Regions from separate parts of the Homo sapiens genome. Here regions 1, 2, 4, 5 and 6 are each linked to region 3. The links are contacts of gene promoters, found by promoter capture Hi-C in blood cells and fetal thymus (Javierre and others, 2016). All regions are on one chromosome and are shown on one strand. The core of a region is centred on a gene start or on the middle of the fragment in contact, and the rest is flanking DNA. Distances in the headings are between cores, read along the strand shown.

Evidence for each region. The method cuts DNA at HindIII sites, captures the fragments that hold promoters and counts their contacts. A CHiCAGO score of 5 or more calls a contact.
Region 1: a fragment that was not itself captured here is called in contact with the fragment with the promoter of HADH in region 3 in 3 of 17 cell types (fetal thymus, activated CD4 T cells and non-activated CD4 T cells); the score reaches 6.3 in fetal thymus.
Region 2: a fragment that was not itself captured here is called in contact with the fragment with the promoter of HADH in region 3 in 1 of 17 cell types (non-activated CD4 T cells); the score reaches 6.1 in non-activated CD4 T cells.
Region 4: a fragment that was not itself captured here is called in contact with the fragment with the promoter of HADH in region 3 in 1 of 17 cell types (monocytes); the score reaches 5.0 in monocytes.
Region 5: a fragment that was not itself captured here is called in contact with the fragment with the promoter of HADH in region 3 in 2 of 17 cell types (activated CD4 T cells and non-activated CD4 T cells); the score reaches 6.7 in activated CD4 T cells.
Region 6: a contact is called between a fragment that was not itself captured here and the fragment with the promoter of HADH in region 3, in 1 of 17 cell types (non-activated CD4 T cells). The highest score is 5.4, in non-activated CD4 T cells.

Annotation. Positions count from the first base shown.
Region 1 is chr4:108,348,271-108,352,673 of GRCh38, forward strand. No RefSeq gene overlaps it. Among named protein-coding and RNA genes, the nearest start is that of LEF1, 180 kb to the left of the region's middle. The HindIII fragment of the contact is 6,562 bases long and covers 1-4,403 here.
Region 2 is chr4:108,495,843-108,499,668 of GRCh38, forward strand. No RefSeq gene overlaps it. Among named protein-coding and RNA genes, the nearest start is that of RPL34-DT, 120 kb to the right of the region's middle. The HindIII fragment of the contact is 1,085 bases long and covers 961-2,045 here.
Region 3 is chr4:107,987,827-107,991,612 of GRCh38, forward strand. HADH (hydroxyacyl-CoA dehydrogenase) reads left to right here and starts at 2,063. Exons shown (of 8, transcript NM_005327.7): 1 at 2,063-2,238. The coding sequence starts at 2,107. RefSeq lists a silencer at 1,830-2,059. The HindIII fragment of the contact is 11,946 bases long and covers 1-3,786 here.
Region 4 is chr4:107,684,091-107,687,925 of GRCh38, forward strand. PAPSS1 (3'-phosphoadenosine 5'-phosphosulfate synthase 1) reads right to left here. Exons shown (of 12, transcript NM_005443.5): 4 at 2,949-3,087. Among named protein-coding and RNA genes, the nearest start is that of PAPSS1, 34 kb to the right of the region's middle. The HindIII fragment of the contact is 4,878 bases long and covers 1-3,835 here.
Region 5 is chr4:108,477,135-108,481,364 of GRCh38, forward strand. No RefSeq gene overlaps it. Among named protein-coding and RNA genes, the nearest start is that of RPL34-DT, 140 kb to the right of the region's middle. The HindIII fragment of the contact is 4,341 bases long and covers 496-4,230 here.
Region 6 is chr4:108,454,043-108,458,305 of GRCh38, forward strand. No RefSeq gene overlaps it. Among named protein-coding and RNA genes, the nearest start is that of RPL34-DT, 160 kb to the right of the region's middle. The HindIII fragment of the contact is 617 bases long and covers 1,635-2,251 here.

The DNA.
Region 1 (4,403 bases), core at 1,585-4,084, 360 kb after region 3:
TGGGGATTGCTGGCTTAAGCAGGGATGGAGTCCCCTTAGCCTTCTTTGAAAGACATTAACCTCTGTAGAGCCTTGAGACCTCAGTAGTTGAGATAAACATTTTTCCTAATAAGAGCCCAGAGGGAATATGTCATATACTTTACTGTTTTCAGGGTTTAAACTCAGTTGCAGGCAGAACTTTTTCTAAAGGTTTCAAAAGAAAGGCAAGCCAACATGTGCAGGCATATCGCCAAGTTTCTATAACCTCTCTAGATTGTGGACATTGAGACAGAGAAAAGAAAGCCTGGGAAAGGAGGGATGGAGAGCTGAAAAGACCAGTTCTAAGCTGACTAGACTTTTCTCCCATGTCTGCATGGTCTGGTTTACCTTGTCACTCTATAGTCAAGTCAGTTAAAAGTTTAATACACAAATGGAAAGAAGTTGATGATATTCTAATTTCATTCAATTACCATAGGTGAGGATATTATCTATGCAAAATTGTAGCTCACATTAGGTTTATAAGATAGTGCACACATATAATCCATATCTTATTTAAATATCTTAGTCTATAATCACTAGAATCTTTATTTTTATTTTATTTTAGTTTTAGTTTTTCCAACTTTTATTTTAGGTTCAAGGGGTACATGCACAGGTTTGTTACATGGGTAAATTGTGTGTTGTGGGGGTTTAATGTACAGATAATTTTGTCACCCAGGTAATCAGCATAGTACCCCAATAGGTAGTTTTCAATCCTCACCTTCCTCCCAAATGCCACCCTCAGGTAGGCCCCAGTGTCTATTACTCCCTTCTTTGTGTCCCTATATACTCAATGTTTAGCTCTCACTTATAAGTGAGGACATTTGGTTTTCTGTGATAGTTCACTTAGGATAATGGTCTCCATGTCCATCCATGTTGTTTCAAAGGATATAATTTTGTTATTTGTTATGGCAGCATAGTATTCCATGATGTATATGTACCACATTTTCTTTATCCAGCCTACCACTGATGGGCATGGGAGGTTTAACTGGGCATGGTTTCCTGCCTTCAAAATCTTACCTTGACTAAGTGTTCCACCAGAAAAAGTGAGGAGTTCGGCAGAGGTAGGAAATAAAAAAGGCACCCCATAAAAGAGAGAAGACCATAGCATGAGGCAACATGTATGTTTGTAACATCTCAAGAAACATGCGGAAAACAACTTCACATTGATCTGAAATCATGTGCCATGTGTCATAATCTCTCTTTGTTTCTATAAAATTGCATCGTTAAGGAGTATATTTTGCTTGATTACTCTCTATCAAAGAATGTGGGTTCCATGAAAGGTTGGGTAGACGAATCTCTCTTACTTTTCCTCCCACACTTTCCCCTCAAATGTTGGATGAAAGGGAGAAAAGAGCTACCAGTCCCTGGTGGAGGCCTAAATTCTGGGAGTGTCCCAGCCCCAATCTACTCCCTCTGCCTGCCCTCTGGGAGGCTGAGGTGAGGGAGGTGGGTGTACCCACTAGCAAAACGTGATCCCAGGCCTGGGTCCGTTCCTCTGTTTTGCCTTTGCTTAAAACGTGCGGGAGGGCTCCTTTGAAGGCCAGAGAAAGGCAAGTCCATCATCTGGGAGGAGGAGACACACACATAGGATGTCACCATGCCATATCCTTAGTCCCTCGCTGGACTGGGTCAGATTTGGAGGTAAGGCTGTGAAAACATCCAGTCACCCAGTCACTGCCTGGCCTCCGCCAATGTGTCCTGACTCCAACCCAGTCTAGTAAGCCCCTTTTGGACTCTCACTGCTCTGTCACTCCTGTGTTCACTTCCTATATTTTCACACAGATGTGGCTTAGTGTTTTCTTTCTAAGGCATATTTTGCATGGAAGAATGCTTCCAGTGAGCTGAGGCCCTAATTGCCAAATAATGGTTGCCAAAACATGTTATTTTGGCTTCAAGCTGGTACAGAGCTGAGGCATTTTCCCCTCTTAAAAAAAAAAAAAAAAATCCATCCTCAGCAGCCCAAGGGCCATTTGCAAACACACAGGACTGAGCCCTCCATGGCTCTTCCTTCAGCTGGTGAGGGTGACTCCTTGTCACTTGAGGCAGCCTCAGTGGACCTCGTCCTTGCACGGGGGAAGCTCCACGGTGGGGCCGCCTCTGGGCTGTGGGCGCCAGGCTAAACGAAGGTGCTGAGACTTGCCTCCCACCAAGCCCCGCCAAGGGCTGCCTGCTCTGCCACGAGGGGTGTTCCTGCCGCCCCGCGCTGCAGTGGGAAGTGTCTGCCAGCTAACTGCAAACACAAGCCTACCAGCAAGCACGGGAATTCCAGATAGAGACAAATCTAGGGCCTCAGGGGAAGCTGGATGGAACTGATCAGTGTGAGAGATATCACCGCTAATTAAGTCCTGATCCCCTGGCTCCACTTGAAACAAACCAAGGAGGGATCAAGTTTTGCGAGCAGGTGCTAACTGGTTGCAAAAGAGGAGTCCATCACTTCAGCAAAAGGTTTCACTGTACCTTGGGGAGGACACAGCTTTTCTGAGGAAAGTCATTACTGGACAGAGCCATAGGCTCTTATTTTGTCTTAGGACACGGAGGAGCTTGTAAAAAACAAAAAAACACAAAAAACAATCCTCCGCTGTGACAAACAACTGTTTTCCTTTCCTGTGTTTTCCCCTTGATGGCTGATTTACTTTCTCCTCAGATGGACAATGGAGTAATTTACAGGTCAGTAAACACTTTCCTGGAGATGCCGGAGCAGTTTCATTTTGGTACAGATAATATGGGATTTGTTGTGACTCAGAATATCAGTCCAGAGTGGGACTGACACAGCCACCTACCCTGACTGTTTAAGAAAAAACAATTCTAAGTACAATGCATAAATAAACCTAACAGCAAATACTTACCTGCAGAAAGAAAATCTGAGAGCTCCATGAGTATTGTGTATGTGTGTGTGAAGAGGGAAAGTGATGTGTTAAGGAGCTGGACAAATATCCTGTCAAACATCCATGATTTTTTTTATTCTCGGAAATGTTGCCTTGATTCTAGAAATTATGACTTTGAATACCTACTAACATGTACTGGGCACTTCTATGTGCCCGGAGCTCTGCCAAGTGTTTTACATTCATTATCTCATTTGACCTTTATGAGGGCCATAGGAAGTAGATGTGACTTAGAGATGTTAAATAACACCTCTAGTAAGTGACCCGCCAAAGTTTGGAATGCCACCAGAGTGTGTATTTCTAAACGTGATGCTATCCTGCCTCCCAACTTTGGATTCTGCACAGAAATAGCAAAATACTTTGCACATTAAGTGCCCAAGAAATGCATTAAGTGAATGATTGAACAATGATTGAATGGTGATATTAAGGACTCACTGTTTTTGCAATATTGTAAGCATCTTTTCAAATTATTCCCATACGTTCGTACTAAAACAGTAACTTGGGAAATTGTTCTACTATACGTTAAGTCTGACAGTCTAGAGATCTCTGATTTTGGGGACAATATTTGTATTGAGTAAAAAAAATTATTCTGAGGGTCTTCCTTTGATCTGAGTGAAGAATGTTTTGAATCTTGACAGGGCTGGACCTACATTTGGCACATTTTGATAACCTGCAGGCAAGTTGGCTGAAGTTGCTGGCAGTGACTCCAGAAATCATTATCAACATAATTTCCTTTTTCTTATGACATGTAATCCTTCCCCTATCCTCACAACCCAATCTTTCGACCACTCTTGATAGTGGGAGGCTGCTGCTTTGAGTCATGTACCCAGCCACTGAGCACAGGCTTTCTCTGGAATGTGTCCTGTGTTGATTGCACTATTTATTAGTTTTATAGCAACAGAGCTGAGTGCTTCTTTGGTGTCTTTCTTGGGATTGTGTACATCATTCAGCCAGAAACAAAGAGTAGTTTGGATCCTTGCTGGCACCTGAACTGACTTGAAAGGGAATTTAGAGTTAAATCCTTATAACGCATAGATGTTTATGAGAAACATTGTTTTATACATGTTTATGGAAATAAAATTATTTCAAATGATGGTGCTTGAGGGTACTATGAGATGAGACAGGGCTGAGCTCAATAGTGAAGGCACAGAAATGGAAATGCTAAAGGGAGTTTTAATGGTTGGCTTTAGCTCTGATGGGGGCAACGAGGCCTTAACCTTGTTTTCTTTACCAGCTCTTCCACTGTCCTTTTGGCTTGCTGAGAATCTAACAGTATCTCACTCCATTTCGCTGTTGCTGTAATGAAGAAGCAGTGCTGTTGGTCAGTGGATTTTTCCAGAAGGTTGAGTTAAAGGGTATAACAAGCAGAGGGTGATAGTTTGAGAAAGCTCCAGATATGCACACTTCTACCCTCCCCTCTAACCATCATTTTCTGGAGTGTGATTTTGCCCCCGCAGCTTGCTTTACTGTCCACTAAACCACTTTCTTGTTTTCAGCCATGTG
Region 2 (3,826 bases), core at 253-2,752, 510 kb after region 3:
TAGTAGAATAAAATAAATAATAAAGACCAGAGCAAAAATAAATGAAATAGAGCCTAGAAAATCAATAGAAAAGATCAACAAAATGAAGAGTCTGTTTTTTGAGAAGATAAACAGAATTGACAAATCTTTAGCTAGACTAAGAAAAAAGGAAAGAAAATTCAAGTAAATAAAATCAGAGATGAAAAAGGAAACACTAAAACTGATCACAAAATATAAAGCATCATAAGAGACTATTATAAACAATTATATGCCAACGAATTGAGTAACTTAGAAGAAATGAATACATTCTTGGACACATGCAACCTATCAAGATAGAGTTATGAAGAGATAGAAAATCTGAACAGATGAATAATAAGTAAGAAGATTGAATCTGTAATAAAAAGTCTGTCATCAAAGAAAAGCCCAGGACCTGATGGTTTCACTGTAGAATTATACCCAACAGTTAAAGAAGAAATAATACCAATTCTTCTCAAACTATTCCAGAAAATTAAAGAGGAGAGAATTCTTCCAAATTTATTCTATAAGGCCAGCATTATCTTAACACTAAAACCAGACAAAGATATAATAAAAAAAAGAAAACTAAAGGCCAATATCCTTGAGGGACATAGATGCAAAAATCCTCCACAAAATACTAGCAAACCAAATTCCACAGCACATTAAAAAGATCATTCACCATGATCAAGTTAGGAGTCATTCCAAGAATGCAAGGATCGTTCGACATATGCAAATGAATAAACATGATACATCACATTAGCAGAACAAAGAACAAAAGCCACTGAACATTCAATAGATGCACAAGAAGCATTTGGGAAAATTAATCATCTCTTTATGGTTTAAAAAAGGCTCTCAAAAATTAGGTATAGAAGGAATGTACCTTAACACCATAAATATATGATATCATATTATTATCATATATGGTAAACCCACAGGTAATATCATACTGAATGGGGAAAAGATGAAAGCTTTTCCTCTAACATCTGGAACAAGACAAGATGTCCACTTTTGACACTACTATTCAATATAGTACTGGAAGTCCTAGTCCAAGCAATTAGGCAAGTGATAATAAATAAATAAATAAAAGGCATCTAAATTGGAAAGGAGGAAGTCAAATTGCCTGTGTTTTCAGATGACACTATCTTACAGTTAGAAACCATAAAAACTCCACCAAAATAGCTATTGGAGCTAATAAATTCAGAAAAGTTGCAGGATACAAAATCAACATATAAAATCAGTGTGTTTCTATATACTGAGTAAACTATCAAAAATGAAACCAAGACAGCAATCCCATATGCAATACCTACAAACAATACTTAGGATTAAATTTAACCAAATAGGTTAAAGACCTTTACATTGAAAACTATAAAACACTAATGAAATAAATTGAAGAAAACAAAAATAAGTTGAAAGATATTTGTGTTCATGGATTGGAAGAATTAATATTGTTAAAATGTCTATACTACCCAAAGTAATCTACAGACCCAATGAAATCCCTATACCAATGATATTCTTCACAGAAATAGAAGAAAAATCTTAAAATTCATATGGACCCATACAAGACCCCAAATAGCCAAAAACAATCCTGAGCAAAAAAGAACAAAGTTGGTAGCATCACACTATCTGACTTCAAATTATACTACAGAGCTACAGTAACCCAAACAGCATGGTACTGGCATAAAAACAGACACACAGACCAATGGGACAAAATAGAGATCCTAGAAATAAATCCAAATATTTATACCAAACTGATTTTTGACAAAGGTGCCAAGAACACATAATGGGGAAGGGACAGTGTCTTCAATAAGCAGTGTTCAGGAAACTGAATATTCGCTTGTAGAATGAAATTAAATCCTTATTCCTCACCATATACAAAAATTAACTCAAAATGGATAAAAGACTTAAACATAAAACCCAAAACTATGAATATACTAGAAGAAAACGTAGAATAAAATCTCCATGACATTGGTTTGGGCAATTTTCTGGATATGACCTCAAAAGCACAGGCAACAAAAGTAAAAACAGAGAAATTGAATTGCATCAAACTAAAAAGCTTCTCCACAGCAAAGGAAACAACAGAGTAAGAAGACAATCTACAGAATGGGAGAAAATATTTGCAAATTACACATCTGATAAGGGGTCAATGGCCAAAATACGTGGGGAATTCAAACAACTCAGTAGTAAGAAAACAAACAGTTCAATTTAAAAATTAGCAAAAGACTTGAATAGATGTTTCTCAAAAGAAGATATGCAAATGGCCAACAGGTGTATTTTTAAAATGCTCAGCATCACTAATCATCAGGGAAATGCAAATCAAAACCAAAATAAGATACCACCTCATTCCTGTTAGAAGGGCTACTATCAAAAAGACAAAAGACAAGTGTTGGAGAGGATGTGAAGAAAAGGAAATCCTTGTACACTGTGAGTGAGAATGCACAACCATCATGGAAAATGGTATGGATGTTCCTCAAAAAACTGAAAATAGAGCTACCATATGATTCAGTAATCCCACTACCAATCATATATCCAATGGAAATGAAATCAGTATGTCAAATCAATATATCTGCACTCTCACATTTACTGCAACACCATTCACAACAGCCAAGATATATCTATCAACAGATGAAAGAATAAAGAAAGCGTGGTATATATACACAATGGAATACTATTCAACCATAAAAAGAAGGAAATCCTGTCATTTGCAACAACATGGATGGACCTGGAAGACATAACTAAGTGAAATAAGCCAGGCACAGAAATACAAATACTGCCTGTTCTCACCCATATGTGAAGTCTAAAAACTTGATCTCATAGAAGTAGAGAGTAGAATGATGGTTACCAGAGGCTGCGATGGTTAGAGGGAAGTGGGTTTGGGGAGATGTTGGTAAAAGAATAGATATTTACAGTAAGAAAGGGTGAATAGGGCCAGATGTGGTGGCTCATGCCTGTAACCCTAGCACTTTGGGAGGCTGAGGTAAGCAGATCGCTTGAACTCAGGAGTTCAAGATGAACCTGAGCAACATGGCAAAACCCGATCTCTACAAAAAAAAAAAAAAAAAACTAGCCAGACAGGGCACTTCATGCCTGTAGTCTTAGCTATTCAAGAGGCTGAGGTAGGAGGATCATTTGAGCACAGGAGGTTGAGGTTACAGTGAGCTGTGATTGAGCCACTGTACTCCAGTCTGGGGGACAAAGACAGACTCTGACTTCAAAAAAAAAAAAGAAGAGAAGAGAAGAGAAAGGGTAAATAAGCTCAAGAGATCTATCGTACAGCATGGTGACTACAGTTAATGATGACGTATTTTATTATTGAAAAATGCTAGTGATAGTGAGTGTTAAGTGTTCTCACAACAAAAGTGATAGCTATGTGAGGTAATTCATTTGTTTAACCATTCACAATGTATACATACTTCCTTTTTTTCTTTTTGTAGAGACGGGGGTCTCACTATGTTAGCCAGACTGGCCTTGAACTCTTGCCCTCAAGTGAGCCTCCCACCTCATCCTCCTAAAGTGCTGAGATTATAGGCATGAGCCACTGAGCCCAGCTATATATATATATATATATATATATATATACTTCAAAACATCATGTTGTACATGATAAATACATACAACTTTTTGTCAGTTTTTTTTAAAGTAAATGCTTATCACTGTTTAATTATTGGGTCATCTTTTCCATTTCACCTGATCCCAGTTTCCAGCATGATCCAGTACTTAAAGATTAATAAAAAATAATAACTCATAACTATTAATGTAAGACAACTTCATGAGCTACTCCTTGAAGATATTTTTCTCCAATCAAAAGTTCCTTAAATTAAAGGAAAACTCTTTG
Region 3 (3,786 bases), core at 813-3,312:
CCTCTCTTAGAAGCAAAATTTATTCAAAGACCTGTTAACATTCTTAAATATCTGCTAGCTGTAATAAAGAAATCAATGTACTTTATGTTCTTAGCTCCCACAATTTAGCCTAAATATTTGCCCTGGCATGCTTATACTGGTCCAAGTGGGCATTAGGTCATAGCCTGTTCCTCTTCCTTATTTAGAGGTGTTTTTCCCTTCTCAGCATTCCACAAGTTACTTCCTCCTTCCTTTGTTCTCCTCTGCCTTTGCCTCTTTTAAGAATTTCTAAGTTGCTAGCCAATCAAGACAAATACAGAATGTGAAGTCCCGTTCTAGCCAATGGAAACCAGTCACAACAGTAAGGTGGACGGGTCAGGTTATAAATGACCCTGCCTCCTTTGTTCGGTGTACTCTTGTGGCAAAACTGCTGGCGAGTGTACTCTTTCCGCAGAAAGTAAAAATGGCCTTGCTAAAGAAATTAATTTTATGTTCAAGTGCTATTTCTTTACGGCACCAAGAAATAAGCATTTCTAGCAGTCCTTAACCGCCATAATGCCCTAAATTAGACCATGACCAATTGGACTCAAATACTTTGAACTATCTTTATTGCCTGAACTTTGAATTGTTTAATTTTGATCAGTTCAGTTTGTGGAGACTCCTGTTAAGGTGTGTACCTCAGTTTATTGCTATACTCCTTCTCGTGGCCATAATAGTCTCCCTGATGTGTTGTTGTCCCCTCGAGAGTCTTCAATGTCTCTATGCAGCCATCCTTTGTACACCAAATGGTGTTATTACAGTTAGAATAACAACATGAAGAAAGTATAATCACTCAACTAATTTGACATTGTGACTTCCATACTGAGACAAAACAAGGTTCTGGTCAATCTCGTAAAACTGAGAGGCTGACCCAAAGGAGGAAACTGTTATTAAATTAAATCTGGCCTAAAGTTGCCTCCCTACCTAGCAAAGCATAATCAAACCTAATATGTAAATAAACTGCAATGTAATTTGAGAGTACGTTCTTCTAACAAGTGGCCAAGTCTTGGCCAATCACCGCAGCGGAGCTTTTAGCCCATTACAGGCTGCAAAAAATATTGTCTATAAACGCGGCTTGCCCACTGTTAGGGGCTGGAGCTCTCTGAACCTTTACTGGCTCAGGATACTACATGATTCATGCTTTCTTTGCTCAGATAAACTCTGCTAAACTTGTTTGAAGTTTTTTTGTTAACAATATTTAAACATAAAGCAAATAAATTAATAAGAATCCTATATCACTAAGTTACAGTAATTAGAAAGTATTCACCTGAGTGAGAAGATTGGCCAAGCTGCTATCCAGTCTTCCATTATTTGACAAGACATTTCTTTCCTATGCTTTCTAATAGTATTCGTTATTCCAGAAAGGTTGCTCTATGACCTTAAACCGTCCACATGTTCACTGCACTGATAGACGTCCAACGTCAAGATGGGTAACTAAAGGTCAACTCTCTCTTTACCTTCCCTGAGCCTGATTTTTGCATTGTAACTCATGGTCACTAGACATTTGTTTTGGGTGTTCGCAGTCTACATTTATTTCCCTTTTAGGGGAAACAATCACTGTCCACGGGATTAAAATAATCCCGAGTTGATTATTTGGTGACATCAACCAACGGTGCACATTTTGGGTCCATTACCAACACAGCCAAGCAGCACATATTTCTTCAGAGCCTAGATATGCACATGTCATCAAAGGATAGCATTTTACAGAGTCAACACCACTCACTTCATAGAACAAGGGGCCAGTGGCTTTTCAGAAGAAGGGTCTGTTCTCGGCCCCACACCAGAACGCCAGCCGCCAGGTCCCGCTGCTCAGCAGGTCTCAAGCCCGCGCTCACTCGGGCTCCGGCTGCTGACAGCTGCGAGCCCGCGCGTGTATACCCGCTCAACGCTGGGACGTTACAGCCAGGGCCAATGGGCAGAGCGGGACTCGAGGCCCCGCCCCCGCCTTGTGGCGTCACGGGGACGCCGGGGGCGCGCGGGCTGCAGGGCCGCGTAGGTCCCCGCCCCCAGAGTCTGGCTTTCCGCGGCTGCCCGCCTCGCGCGTCTTCCCTGCCCGGGTCTCCTCGCTGTCGCCGCCGCTGCCACACCATGGCCTTCGTCACCAGGCAGTTCATGCGTTCCGTGTCCTCCTCGTCCACCGCCTCGGCCTCGGCCAAGAAGATAATCGTCAAGCACGTGACGGTCATCGGCGGCGGGCTGATGGGCGCCGGCATTGCCCAGGTGAGCGGCCCTCCCTGCAGCGTGCCCACGCGCTTGGCCGCCCACCCTGAGGTGGAAGCTCTGGCGCGACCGGCCGCGAGGGGCCTGCACCCGCCCGACACCAGGGAGTTTTCACCCCGCGCCTCCCGGGTGTAGTTGAAATATCTCGCGTCTGGGCCTGTGAGGGCCCAAGTCTCACTCCCCTCAAAATTCAGGGTTCTGGGCCGATCCTCAGCTTCCTCGTTTGGAAAATTCTGGCTGCCCCCAGGGCCCGCTGAAGGTTCCATGGAGAGTGGCGGTGAATGCATTTTGGAAGCGGGCCGTGCAAGAGAAGAAAGAATTGTATGTGCACAAGGTTCAGGCATAACGCGTTTGTTCCTGCTCGGCTCAAACGGGAGTTTGCTGCCAAAGACATGAACTGCGATCAGTTTTAATTCTATCAGTTATTTTTGATTTTTATTCTGTAATTGTGCAGTCTTTGTCAAAGTAGTTTTCTCTCCTAAACGGCCTCCCGGCTCTCCCCGGTCTTTCCTTCGCTTGCTAGGTTGTAAAGAATAGTAGTAGTCATGACTTTTGTAGCACTTTGTAAAGTCACCTAATGGAAGATTGCTGAGGTCCTGGTTTTGACCTTTGAAATAGTGCCGTCTGTGCAGAGTTCTGAGCTTGCGATTTTGGCGCTGCAGCGGAATAAGTCTCTCTCTTTTTTTTTTTTTTTTTTTTTTTGAGTCGGAGTCTCTTTGACCCAGGCTGGAGTGGAGTGCAATGGCGCGATCTCGGTTCACTGCAACCTCCGCCTCCCGGGTTCAAGCGATTCTCCTGCCTCAGCCTCCCGAGTAGCTGGGATTACAGGCGCCCCGCCCGGCTAATTTTATATTTTTAGTAGAGACAGGGTTTCACCTTGTGGGTCAGGCTGATCTCGAACTCCTGACCAAAGGTGATCCGCCCGCCTGGCCTCCCGAAGTGCTGGGATTACAGGCGTTAGCCACTGCACCCAGCCGGAACAAGTCTTTTATCCATTGTACATCTTCAGGGCTTTTCCATTGTTCTGCTGAGCTGTGGTTCAGGCTCAGTTGTGCGAGTGATTGATTACCTGGCTACTGTAATGCTTGTACTTTTTTTTTTTAAAAATTATTCCATTTCAGCTCACATTGGAGAACCATGGTTTTCGTATCCTAGCTGATTATATTCTTAGCATTTCAGTCCTTTGCAACTTGGTTTGTTGGGGAAGGCGGTTATAGTCATCTAATTTTTCTTGGGGACAGTACTACTGTGGCTACAGTCATGAGAGAGTTTACTTTTTCAATGTCTTGTTTCCAACCAAGTCCACGCTTTCATGCTTGCTTTTTAAAAACAAAAACAAAAAAACCTTTTACTATTAGGTATTATATATCTCAATTTTCTTCTCCTTGGCAAGTTTTTTACAACGTTTTTATTTGATTGCATTTTCTTCTAAAAGCTATATCCCTGTAATGTTTTATTTATATGACTTCTTACAGTCTCCCATTTCCTCTGAGACCATAATTTTGGACATACATTGCCCTTTTTATTGTGTGGATCCCCTGGCTGCTA
Region 4 (3,835 bases), core at 985-3,484, 300 kb before region 3:
ACACACTCCCAGTTATAGAGTACAAACTGTAAGAGACCCAAGAGCATTGTGGACAAGGTCTTATTCATCTTTGAATACTTGGCACCAAATACATACCTTGCAAATAGAAAGCTGAGGACTAAACTCTGATTTTTTATCTTGCCCAAATTCCTATCTAAGGGGCCTGGGGAGTCATGCCCTACAAACCACAAATTTTCATCAGATAGGTTTTATTTAACCCTATATATCATGACTTCTTTTCCAACCTGACTCTGGCATAACATTGCAAGACAAGAAGAAAATCAAAATATTTTCATCAAAACATGTTTCTTTGCCATATTTTGAAATGGCCCTGCAAAGCTGTTCTTTGTGGGGGAAAATTTGCACCTTTAAAGAATCTTTATTAACAAAACTATATTTTTTTCTTCCAGACCCTCCCAATCCTAAAGAGATTAAGATCTGAATGGGGACATTTGTCATCTATTGTCTCTAAGGGTAGCCACTGTAAGACCTCAAAAGAACTTTGGTCTCCACAATCTTTATCTTAACCTGAACAATTCCCTTTCTATCAATCCCAGTTCTTCAGACAAACTCAACCAATTGTCAACCAGAAAACATTTAAACTCACCTATAGCCTAGAAGCTCCCCGCACCACCTGGCTTTGAGTTGTCCCACCTTTCTGGACCAAACCAATGTATTTGATTGATGTCTCATGCCTCTCTAAAATGTATAAAACCAAGCTGTGCCTCAACGACCTTGGGCACATGTTCTCAGGACCTCCTGAGGGCTGTGTCACGGGCCATGGTCAATCGTATTTGGTTCAGAGTAAATCTCTTCAAAAATTTTTTTTTTTTTAGATGGAGTCTCGCTCTGTCGCCCAGGCTAGAGTGCAGTGGCACAATTTCGGCTCACTGCAAGCTCTGCCTCCTGTGTTCACGCCATTCTCCTGCCTCAGCCTCCTGAGTAGCTGGGACTACAGGCGCCCGCCACCATGCTGACTAATTTTTTGTATTTTTAGTAGAGACGGGGTTTCACCGTGTTAGCGAGGATGGTCTCGAATCTCTTCAAATATTTTACAAGAGTTCAACTCTTTTTGTCGCCAAAGCATTGGCAAATGTGTGTTCAACATTCCACTCCCACTCCACCTTCTCATCCATCCAACAAGCATTAACTATGTGTGTGACAGGTGTATGCTTTGGGCAATGTACTGTGCTAAATTCTAAACACACACAAGTGTTCACTATGATCTCCCTGCTCACAAGTAGCCTACTCCAGCCAGGATGACAAACCTTCCTCCCTCACCAATCCATTCTTTCAAAAACAACAAAATCAACTAAAATTAAAGTAAGTAAAAGGTTTAGACTTTATTTAGGATCCTGGACACACCATTTTGCTTTTCTGTGCCAAATTTCTACACAAAGACTGAAGTGAAAACTGGCCATTGAGAGAGTAATATGGGAGCTGAAGGGCTAAACAGGTTTTCCTCCAATTGTCATAATTATTCTGGTTAAGCAGCCTGATCTTTCTGAGTCAAGAAAGTAACAGCTTAATGAGGTAGAGGGTTGACAGGCAGCAGTCCCCATCAAGGAGCTGATTCTCCATAGTGGCATTACCGGAGGTCAGCCTTGCCCATGGAACTAATGCTACTACAGCAGATGGAACCTGACCTAATTGCCAAAGCATTCCCAGGTTCAAATACAGAAGAACCCAGAATAACTACCATTTTCCTTCCCACTGTATCTTTTTGTTTTCAGGGCCAGAAACTGAATGCCAAAATCTATCTCTGAGAGAGCTCCTGGGAGTTTCTGTGACAGTCTCAGGTTATCACATTCCCTGCTGGGAAGGCAAACTTAAAAGTTACCTGCATGACTCACTGATCCCTAAACAATGGTATCTTTAGTTAGTTTTTTTGTTTGTTTTGTTTCGTTTTGTTTTTGTTTTGTTTTTGCCAGCAAGTCCTTTGTTTCTGTTAACAATAATGGAACAGGACAAGTCAAGGGATGTCTACAAGATAAATAGTATGATTAATATCAAAGGCCAGAGCAGAGTTGGGTTCTAAATTTCTCCCTCAATGTCTAAATGTCCATCACAGTTGAAACTCTGGGAAGCGGACCATAAAACCTAAAAAGCAAGGTGTAGAGCTGTCCCTTGGTAATCATGCGGATTTGTTCCCGGACTCCCTGTGAACACCAAAATGTGAGGATGTGCAAGTCCCTTACATAAAATGGTGTACTATTTGCATATAACCTATGTTCATTCTTTTATATACTTTAAATCATCTCTAGATTACTTATAATACCTAGTACAATGTAAATGTTATATAAATAGATGTTATACTATATTTGTTATTTATACTATTTTTAAATTGCTGTATTATTTTATACTGTTTCTTCTGGAATATATGCAATTCACGGTTGGTTGAAACCACACATGTGGAATGCACAGATGTGGAGGGTCAGCTGTATATATTTTAACAGAATCAGTGATATGTTAATTCAATCTAATTCAACAATAGTACATGAAATGAATAAGGGACCATTCCAAGGATCGTAATAAAGTACAAGGCATTATCCTTATCATCAAGATGCTTATAATTCAGGCATTTTTTCCAATAGCTATGGGATTTCCTCCATTTTCCCTGGAACAAAGAAAGTAGAATTGGTGGCAGCAGGCAACTGATGTCCAACTTAATGTTAGGCACCTAATTTTATCAAGTAGGTTTTCGCCAACTCCCGAGCCCCAACTCTGGCTAGTGAACAGGATTCCAAAAGGATCAACAAGACTCATTTAGTCCAGCACCAGGCACTGCTGCTATGCCTGAGAGATAGAACAGTGTAATAAGACTACATTCTCTCCTCAAGGAGCTCCAAGTCACTCTAACACTTCCAATCTCTTAGAAAATATCAATCCTAGATATGGGAACATAAAATATCTAAGCAAAGTGAAACTGGGAAGAAAATATTACTGACCTTTAATTTCTCCTGCCCGGGCTTTTTTGTAGAGTCCTTTGACATCCCTCTGTTCACAAACATGCAGAGGAGCATCAACAAATACTTCAAAAAACGGTAAACTTGCACCTTCATGAATTTGCCTTGCATTGTTGCGATCCTTAAAAAAAAATAAAATAAAAAGTGATCACACAAATCACAAACGTACTATATTAATATTAAAGATGAGTAAAAAGTGCTTCTCATCCAATTTAGTGGGAAATAGACAAAATTTATGTTTTTAAATATAAACTGAAAAAAAAATCCAAGAAATTATTAGGTTAATTCCTATTATTCATGACAATTTTAAAAGGCATACTGTTCTACTAACCCAGGATATTGGGGAGGTACAGAAGGAAAACAATGAATGTACCACAAACTTTTTCACTCAAATTCTACGTGGATCCTGAGCCAAAGCCCAGCCTGAATGCTGGTGTCATCAGGCTTCTCTCTAATATCACATTCAAACCCAGCCTGAGCTGGCATGAAAGCAATTTCACAAAAAAGATCCATTCAGAATCCTGAGGCTAGTTTACTTCTTTGCCAAATGCAAGCCCCCTGCAGCCACTTCTCCTCTCTAACACTCCCCAAACTTAACTTTTCTGCTCCTAACTCCCAACTCTCTAGTAACCACCCTTGCAGCTCCCTCTAAGCCCTCTCCACTCTGTCCTTTGGAACAATGTTTCCTTTGTAAATCAACCTTTTCTTCTTTCTGGTCTTCAAAACCTGATTCTCCCTTTGCTCCACATTTATACTCCATTAATCAAAGTGCAGTTGCCAATATTTTCAAAGCTGGTCCCTGCAATTTCTACCATCCTTTTTCCACACAGCTCATTTTAGCATTTGCCATCTTCCTTATGGTCCCTCTG
Region 5 (4,230 bases), core at 1,416-3,915, 490 kb after region 3:
ACACACACACACACACACAGACACACATAAACACAGAGAGAATAATTTAAATTAGCTACCAGTGTGATCTAGAGCAATAATGAGTTGTGGGGAAAATAGAGGCACTGGGTTGGCTTGGAGTCACACCTAGGAGGCCAGCAGCCTCTGAGGGGAAAGATATTCCAGGAGAATAGATGGTGACCAAAGTAGCAGGGGGATTGCCCAAGAATGGAAAACGAAGAGTCAAAAATGGCCCAAGTAGAGGTCATTCTCATAGCAAAGCAAGAGAAACCAAGAGACTAGTACCATGTAGTAAATGAACATCATGCCAGTTCAAATAAACACAGGCTCAGAAGTGAATGTAAGAATGAGAACAAATAACTAAAATAAGGCACACTGGGCTAAATAAACTCAAGTCCATAATGAGAATGGAGGCCAGTTAGCCAGAATGGGAAGAGTGGAGATCTGGAAGAAGGAAAACATAGAAAGATCAATTTCATCTAACTGAAACTCTAAAGCTTGCACAACCTCACAGGATGGTGCCTTCTGCCCAGCTCTTCCTGGAATCCTTGTTCCCAGGGACAGCTTCTGATACCTCCTCCAGAGGGTGTTGATAAGACAGTTCACCAAGACTCTCCGGGACTGGGGCCAGGTCCTTTGTAAAATTGTCTGGCTTTTTCTCTTCTTCTTCCTGGTCTTGTCCAGTCTGTATTTCTTTTTTGTTTTGTTTGTTGCACACTGGTCAGTCACTTCTAGTACCAGAAAGGATATAGAAACTATACCACACTCTCAGGCTCTGAGTTGGCAACTGTTTACAGTTCAGTCTCCTATACTTTCAGTGCACAGTCTTCAGCTACGTGTATTACTGTTTGCTCTTTTAGAACTCAGTGAAATGGAGCTTATGTAAAAGCTATTATAAAAATGTACAAGACATATGAAGAAAACTGTAGATTTTTTGTTAAAGAAATCCAAAAGAAAACCTAAATAGAGATTTTCCTGGTAGAGAGATACAATATAGTAAAGATGTATTCATAGAGAAATAGACAGGTACATTCATGAAACAGAAGTGCAAATCTAGAGACAGACTTATGTACACAGAGAAATTTCATATATGATAAATGTGGCATTCCTAATCAGTGCCAAAAAGAGATTATTTGAAGTGTTGGGACAACTGGTTTTCCAGCTGCAGAAAAATAGCTAGATTCCTACCTTAAACTCAGATCAGCCATTTTGGACAAAGAGAGAGAGGACTGTCCTGGGATAACTACAGGGTCATTGTGTACTGGCATCAGTCTGCATTGTGTTACCATCTACTGAAACGGAGGAAGAAAAGGGTAAGATTAATCTGAGATAGGAGCTTCTTCTGTTTGTAATACCAATGCCAAGAACTGGGCTCAATGAGGATGGCCTCAGAATAGTGCTCAGGAAAAGCGACACATTTGAGTAAGGGAATTGGTCAATCTTCCCATTACAAATATCTTTATGACAACTGGAAATTTTCGTTAAACTTATTTTAAAACCTTCTTACTTATTTCTAAAAAAAAAAAAAAAAAAAAAAAGATACAGAACAGGTGTAGGTAAACTACTGCCAGCAGGCCAGTTTTGGCCCTGAGTCTGTTTTTGAAAGGAAAGTTCATTGGGATGCAGCTATGCTCATTCATTTATGTATTGTCTGTGGCTGTTTTTGCACTATAACAGCAGAACTGAGTAACTGCAAGAAAGACCCTACGACCAACAAAACTAAAAATATTACTATCTGTCTCTTTACATAAAAAGTTTCCCAGCAGCTGATATAGCCCAACTGTTTCAAGCACTAACGTTATAGAAGAAAAGCAGGATAGCTGAATGGAAAGGGCTCTGGATTGGGAAAAAGAGCAGAAGTGATTTAGTCTCTGGAATCAGATCTACTCCCATCAACTAACTCATTATCCAAATGCAAACTTGGCTTTAACGTCCCCATGTTTCAGTCTCTTAATTTCCAATAATGGCATTAGAAATAAAATTCTTTTGACATCTGAAGACTATAATTCTAGAATGGTCTCAATGAGTTAAAAAGTAGAAATCAATGTGAAATTCATTACATACTATTACATTTCATTGTAAAGGGTGTATCTCCTTACCTTCAAATAACAGAATTGTTTTTAAGGCTTATTGTGTTAGAAAGAAAAGCTAAGAACTTAGAATCTCAAATCTGAGCACTGATGAGAAATAAAATTGCACTTAACATTTTTCAGGGCTTCTATTTTAACTCTTCACACACATCAGTAATTTGACTCTTTGCCATGGAGAGACAATTGCATGTATTTGCATTTTTTCTGTATGTGAGAATTTAATTTTTTACAACCCGCTGTGTTTTTCAGGCCCTTTAACTAATAGGCTTTTATCACCTTATGATTACCTAATTTTCTCCTAATTGCTTTATGACAATACAATTTATTTTGATCACTCCCACCCTGCGGTTTTACTTTGTAATGAAGGACTTTATGAATTTATGTGTATTATTATGCATCAGCCTAATTTTTCAATCTCTCTTCTTCCTCATAAATGGAAGAATAAAATTGGAGTAAGCCAAAAGAGCCATAGGGTGCCCATGCTTCCTATGTGGGAAAATATCTGCACATGGAGTTTCCATTCTCCCAATCAGCCTCAGAGTGTGCACACTTGCCACACAGGCCTTTTTGGTGATCTCCACGTGGCTTCGTGACGTATATACATATGCACACATTGTATATGAAGAGAGCAATCAGGCCAAGTTCATTTAAAGGTGCAGGGACCCCCTTGGTCTGTGATTTGTGCCTGATCTCCTCATACACTCTATTTATCAGATTTTGAATTTGGATGAAGTGGAAGAGTTCATTGTTTTGAGAACAACCTGAATAAGTTCAGAATTGATTTTCAAAACAGCCTTTTCTTCCTATTGTAAATTCTACAGTGAAGGTTTCTAACGAGCCGTTCTGTAAGTCGAAACGTACTCTAGGTGTACTCAGTTCAGTTCAGCATGAATGTGTCATGCGTCTCTATTATTGACTGATTTCATTTCTATTATTGACTGATTTCGTTCTCGCTGTTGAAGATGTATAAAAATTCACAGAAAGTGAAATATAATAATCTGGGGAACAGCATTGAACAGAATGCAGTCACACATCTCTATAATAGAAAACAGACAACAATCCACTGTTTTGTACACTGTTTTAATTATTTAGTAATAGCTACCATTTCTTGAGTGTCTACTTTGTGGCAGATACTTTATATGCCTGACATTTTATTCAGTCTTTAAGTGGATTTAATAATAGTAAGATCAGCTTTATTCCCATTTATGAATTGCGTTGACCAAAGTTCCACAGATGATATATGGCAGAGCTGGGGTTCATGACTAATACCCCAAAGCCCTGCTCTCACAAGTGTCTGCCTGGACTTTAAAGTACTTTCTCCTTCATCAGTTCATTTGATAGCTATAGCAACCCTGCGAAGGTGGCAGAGCAAAGCATCATGTTCTCCATTTTTCTAGATGAAGACTAGGGAAAAAATGATGTTTCAGTTCCCAATATTATAACAGATAGAGTCAGGCAAGCCAGGCTTCCTCACTCCTGATTCAGTGTTCTTTCAATAAATATAATTTTTATTAAAACCTACAATCAAAGTAGATAGTTTAGTGAAAAACTTATGGATAAGTCTGAGCACTTATACTTTCACAAGTCTTAGCTCAGCAACTAATGGATGATAGGAGGCCTTCTTCTTGTTCCTTGACTAGTTATTAGCTGTATGGCCTTACACAAGTGGCTTCACCTTTTTAGGCTTCCTCATCCTCATCTGTAGAATAATGTGATTGAACTAGATGGTCCCTGAGGTTTGCTCTAGACCTGGGGCCTGTGACTCTATGCCCCATAAAAAGTGTGGTAGTATCACCATGAGCCAGGTGGCCTGGAGACAAAAACTCTATTTGTTTAGATTGTATCATTATGCAGAGAAAACAAAAGGGATAGTTTTATTTAAATTTACAGACAGAATGGAGCTTGGAACCATTGAGTCCATACCTGCAATACCTGCAATTATTTAGTGAATTTGGGCCATGTGGACAAAGAGCAGGTAATTCAGGTCCAGCTGAAGTTTAATGCATAGATAAAATGAGATAGCAGGTGCCTTTTAGAAAACGAAACATGCTGCTTTAAGAGTCAAAAGATGATATTTAGGTTTTTGTTTTTTGTTTTGTTTTGTTTTTGTTTTCGTTTTCATTTTTTGAGACAGAGTCTC
Region 6 (4,263 bases), core at 693-3,192, 470 kb after region 3:
GGAAAAAGCAACCAGAATGCCAGTGGTTAAAACAGGGGGAATATTTGATTTTTAAATGAAAGGCTATCAGACACTACAATGTTCTAAAGTATCCTCACATTTTTATTATGCCTAATGCCAGCTCATGCACACAATACATCATTCACATGAACACTCACAGAACCACAGAAATGGCATAGAATGGTTCCTTAAGAAAATGACCGTAAAAAAGCCTTTGAAACTATTGATAATTAATAAGCCAGGGAGTAGCAATTAATATGTGTAGAGATGGGGCACCTACTGTTCTCTGAGCCATAGCTCATTTAAAATACTCACCCTGTAATTTATGAGCGATATTTAATACCTCAGTGACCATAAACCTCAATGTTTTATTACCACTGCTTAGCATACCTTTGATGTGCTGCCCAGCACTACACAATCCAAAACAAATTACTTTCAGGAAGCTGGATATTATATAAATGCAGGAAAGTCATAAATAATGCACAGGAGGAACATTTTCTGTGGGTTCTGACATGCCACAGTGGGTCTCTGTGAGTCTCTGTGAGTCTGACTTCTCAAGCATCTCACTGGGCTTGGATGAGGGGCAGGAGGGCGGCCCATCTGAGGAATGGTTGGTTGTCAGACAGGGTGGGAGTGCAGAGGGCCAGGCACTGACTGACACCATATTTTAAACCAATAACAGAGGGAAATGGAAAACAAATGAGGACTCTTTAGGAAGCTATGATCTACTTAGTGAGCTACAGATGTGTAAGGAACAAACCCTTCATTCATATTTTTGGTGGGCTCTTCATATTCCTCTTCCTTGCTATTATATGGGCATGCACTGGCTTCTCAACAGCTGTTCAAAACTCTCTATTCTCTTCAAGGTTTGGGATTCAAGACCCAGATTACCCACACCTGCTTACATGAGACAATCTCCTACCTCACTGAAGAAATCGAGGTCATCCGGTGAGAATTCCTCCAACTTTCCTCCAACATAATCATCCTTGTCAAACCTCATTCTTACTGAGGTTGCTCTGTTGTGAAAGGGACAATCCTTTCGCAAGGTGAAACCCCTGTGTCCTTAATCACATTCCCTTGCCCTCTCCTCCAACACCATAAATCATCCCCTTACAGTCTTAGTCCTCTCCCTCTCCACTGGTTCTTTTCCATTTGTCCTCAAATAGGATCAAATATATTGCATCCCTCAAATAAACAAGCAAGCAAAATAAAATCTTTTTCATAACCACATTACCTTATTTCTGAATATGCTCTTCTCCCTCTCTTTGCCCCTACAGTCAGCCTGCCCTCATTGCCAAGCAGATTCTGTCCTCACCATTCTGCTAAGAATCTTCTGGTGGTTTCCCTCCTCCATGACATTCTTCTGGGCTTCGTCTGATAAGACTCTCTACAGGGTTGAATATTGTTTCCTCTTCCTACCCTTACTTGAAACTTTCATGTCCCAGCCTTGCAGGTTCCTATTCTTGTTCAGGATTATTTTCCCCTAGGTCTCTTCTACTGGCTCTGCTTCCTTTGCCCATCCCCAGTCCTCTTCTCTGTATACTCTTTCTAGATGGTCCCACCCTCTTCACTGGCTTTAACCATCATCCTGATACCAGTGACTTCAAGTCCTATTGCTGAAACTTAACTCCCTAAGCTTTACCAGTTGCTCATTGGACAATTTCGCCTGGTATTCCATAGGCCAGCATTCCAAAATATAAGTTATAAGGAGAGATGGGATATTTGCAAGGTGTCAAAATATCACCCCACAAACAACTTGATAATTGCAAAGAGGAAAATGTATCTTCAAAATGAAAATATGTGATGGCCACTACCTTAACCAAGTGATCAAATATACTATCACTAATTGTGGACAATCTGCCATTTGATACCTGCTGAGGGGATAAATAGAAAGTATGTGGCAATACCTGTAAGTTATTCTTGCCAATGATGTTTAACCTGAATGTAATCAAGTCTTTTAGACCTAACTTGCTGTTTGTATAAAACACAAGGGAGAGAGTAAAAAGCTAAAGGATACCACAAAGCAACAATCAGGCAAATCCAGATTGTGTGATCTCTATAGGTTGATTGGCCTGGTCTCTTCAAAAAGACAATAAGAGTCAATATCATTTTTAAAAATGGAGACTGTTCTGAGATAAAAGAACTAAAAGAGATAACAGTCAAATGCAATGCATAAAGCGTGATTGAATCTTGCTTTGAAACAACCAGCTATAAAAGATATTTTGGGTATAATGTAGAAAATTTGAAGACAAGCTTTAAATTAGCTAATATTAGAGAAATAATGTAAATTTTCTTAAATGTTTTATGGTATTGTGCTTTTGGAGGAGGATTTCCTTATTATTGGGAGATGCATGCTGAAGCATTTAGGGATGAACTTTTGTGTTACCTGCAACTTACTTTCAAACGTTCTGCAAAAATAAACATCTGCATGTGTGTATAACTCAAATACAGCAAAGCATCAATAATTTTTTAATTTAGGGGGTAAGTGTGGGAATGTTGAATGTACTTTCCTTCAACATTCTGGCATGTTTTAAAATTTTCATAACAAAAAAGTAGAAAATATGAAGGGAAAATGAAGTAGGCAAAAAACAAAAAAAGTAGAGAAAGAGTAGCCAAAAACTATAAATATAAATTTAATACTTTTCTTCTGCCTCCCCCTTCCCTATTTTTTCTATTCATAATTTACCAAGTAGATGAAGCTAAAAATCTTAGCATCATCTCTAACTTCTCTTTTCCTCTTCAGATCTCCTACTTCCTTCCCTCCTATCATCTGGTCTTTATCTCTCCATATCTTGAGTCTCTGTACCACCCTCCACCATTGCTGCCACACTGCCCTCATGGGTCCTCCATCATGAATCACCTGGACTTCCACCCCCCGGGCTTAATCTCCTCCACCATCAGTCCATTTTCCCTATTCACTCCCCTGATGAAACCTTTATGCAAACTTCCACTGCCTGGGAAATAAAATCAAATTCCCTGAAATAAAACTATTAAAGGATAACATTGGAATGGAATCTAAAAGTAAGGACAAGAGGGAAGTCAAATTGACATCTAGCAACACCCTCAGGCTTTTGACTGCAAAGCTAGAATTTTGATTCCTAGGCTGCCTCACTCCAGGCTTCATTTTGTGCAGAGACAGCAAAGAAGATAGGCCTAGGAAAAAGGATGGTGTCTTCTTAAGGAAACTTGAACTGTCTACCTGAAAAAAGAACCAGGTATGGATCAACCAAGTAGTGTTCTGGATTTTTAAGGTCTATAAAAGAGAGACAGTACCTTTTAACTACCAAGGCCATGACTTCAGATGCTCAATGAAAGACTCATTTTACTGACTTCAGTAAGTGGTTTATAACACTCTTTCAGTGAAGGTGAGGGAAGCAAACACTCTCATACATTGTTAGTATGAGTGTAAATTGGTACAGTCACCATGGGGGGCAATTTTCTTTTATACTCTTAGATCCAGGTGAGGTCACTTTGGAAAATTTGTCCACCAGATATACTTGCTGCTATGCTTTTAATGAATCCCCTCCAAAACTTAGGTGTTGCCAATGTGGTTGTATTAAGAGATGAGGCCTTTAAGACGCGACCAGGCCATGAAGGTGCCACCCCTATGAATGGAATTAGGTGCCATTATAAAGGTGTTTGGCAGAGGGAGTTGTTTCTCTCTTGCCCTCTGCCTTCTACCATTTGAGGCATGGAAATAAGGTCCTCACCAGATGCTGGTGCCTTGACCTTGTACTTACCAGCCTTGAGAACTGTGAGAAATAAATTCCTGTTCTTTTTTAATTACCTAGTCTTGGGTGTTCTGTTACAGCAGCACAAAATGAACTGAGACATTTGCACATATGCAAAATGATGTATGGTATATATAATTCTGAATTCTGCTATGTCATTCATTAAGACATTTTTTCTCAATTGGAAAAATATTGAAGTAAGCAAAACCTCCACCAATAGCGGACTAGTTAAATAAATTATGGTACTTCAGCCTAAAGGAATATTATCGGTTAATGTAAAGAATTGTGAAGAACTCTATGCACACATCTCTGTAAGACGTATTGCGACATGAAAAATGCAAGGTGCAGCACCATGTGTATAGTGCTCTAAACTTTATGGTAAAATGTGAGAAAATAGAGAATAGGTGCTTGAGAATAAAAAAGTCAAAAATAATGCAGCAATATTAAGTGTGAAAATTATCCACCACCTCTAAGGTTAGAAAAACACAGGGAAGATGTTGGTGTTATCATAACCTAGAAACTTGAAGGGATA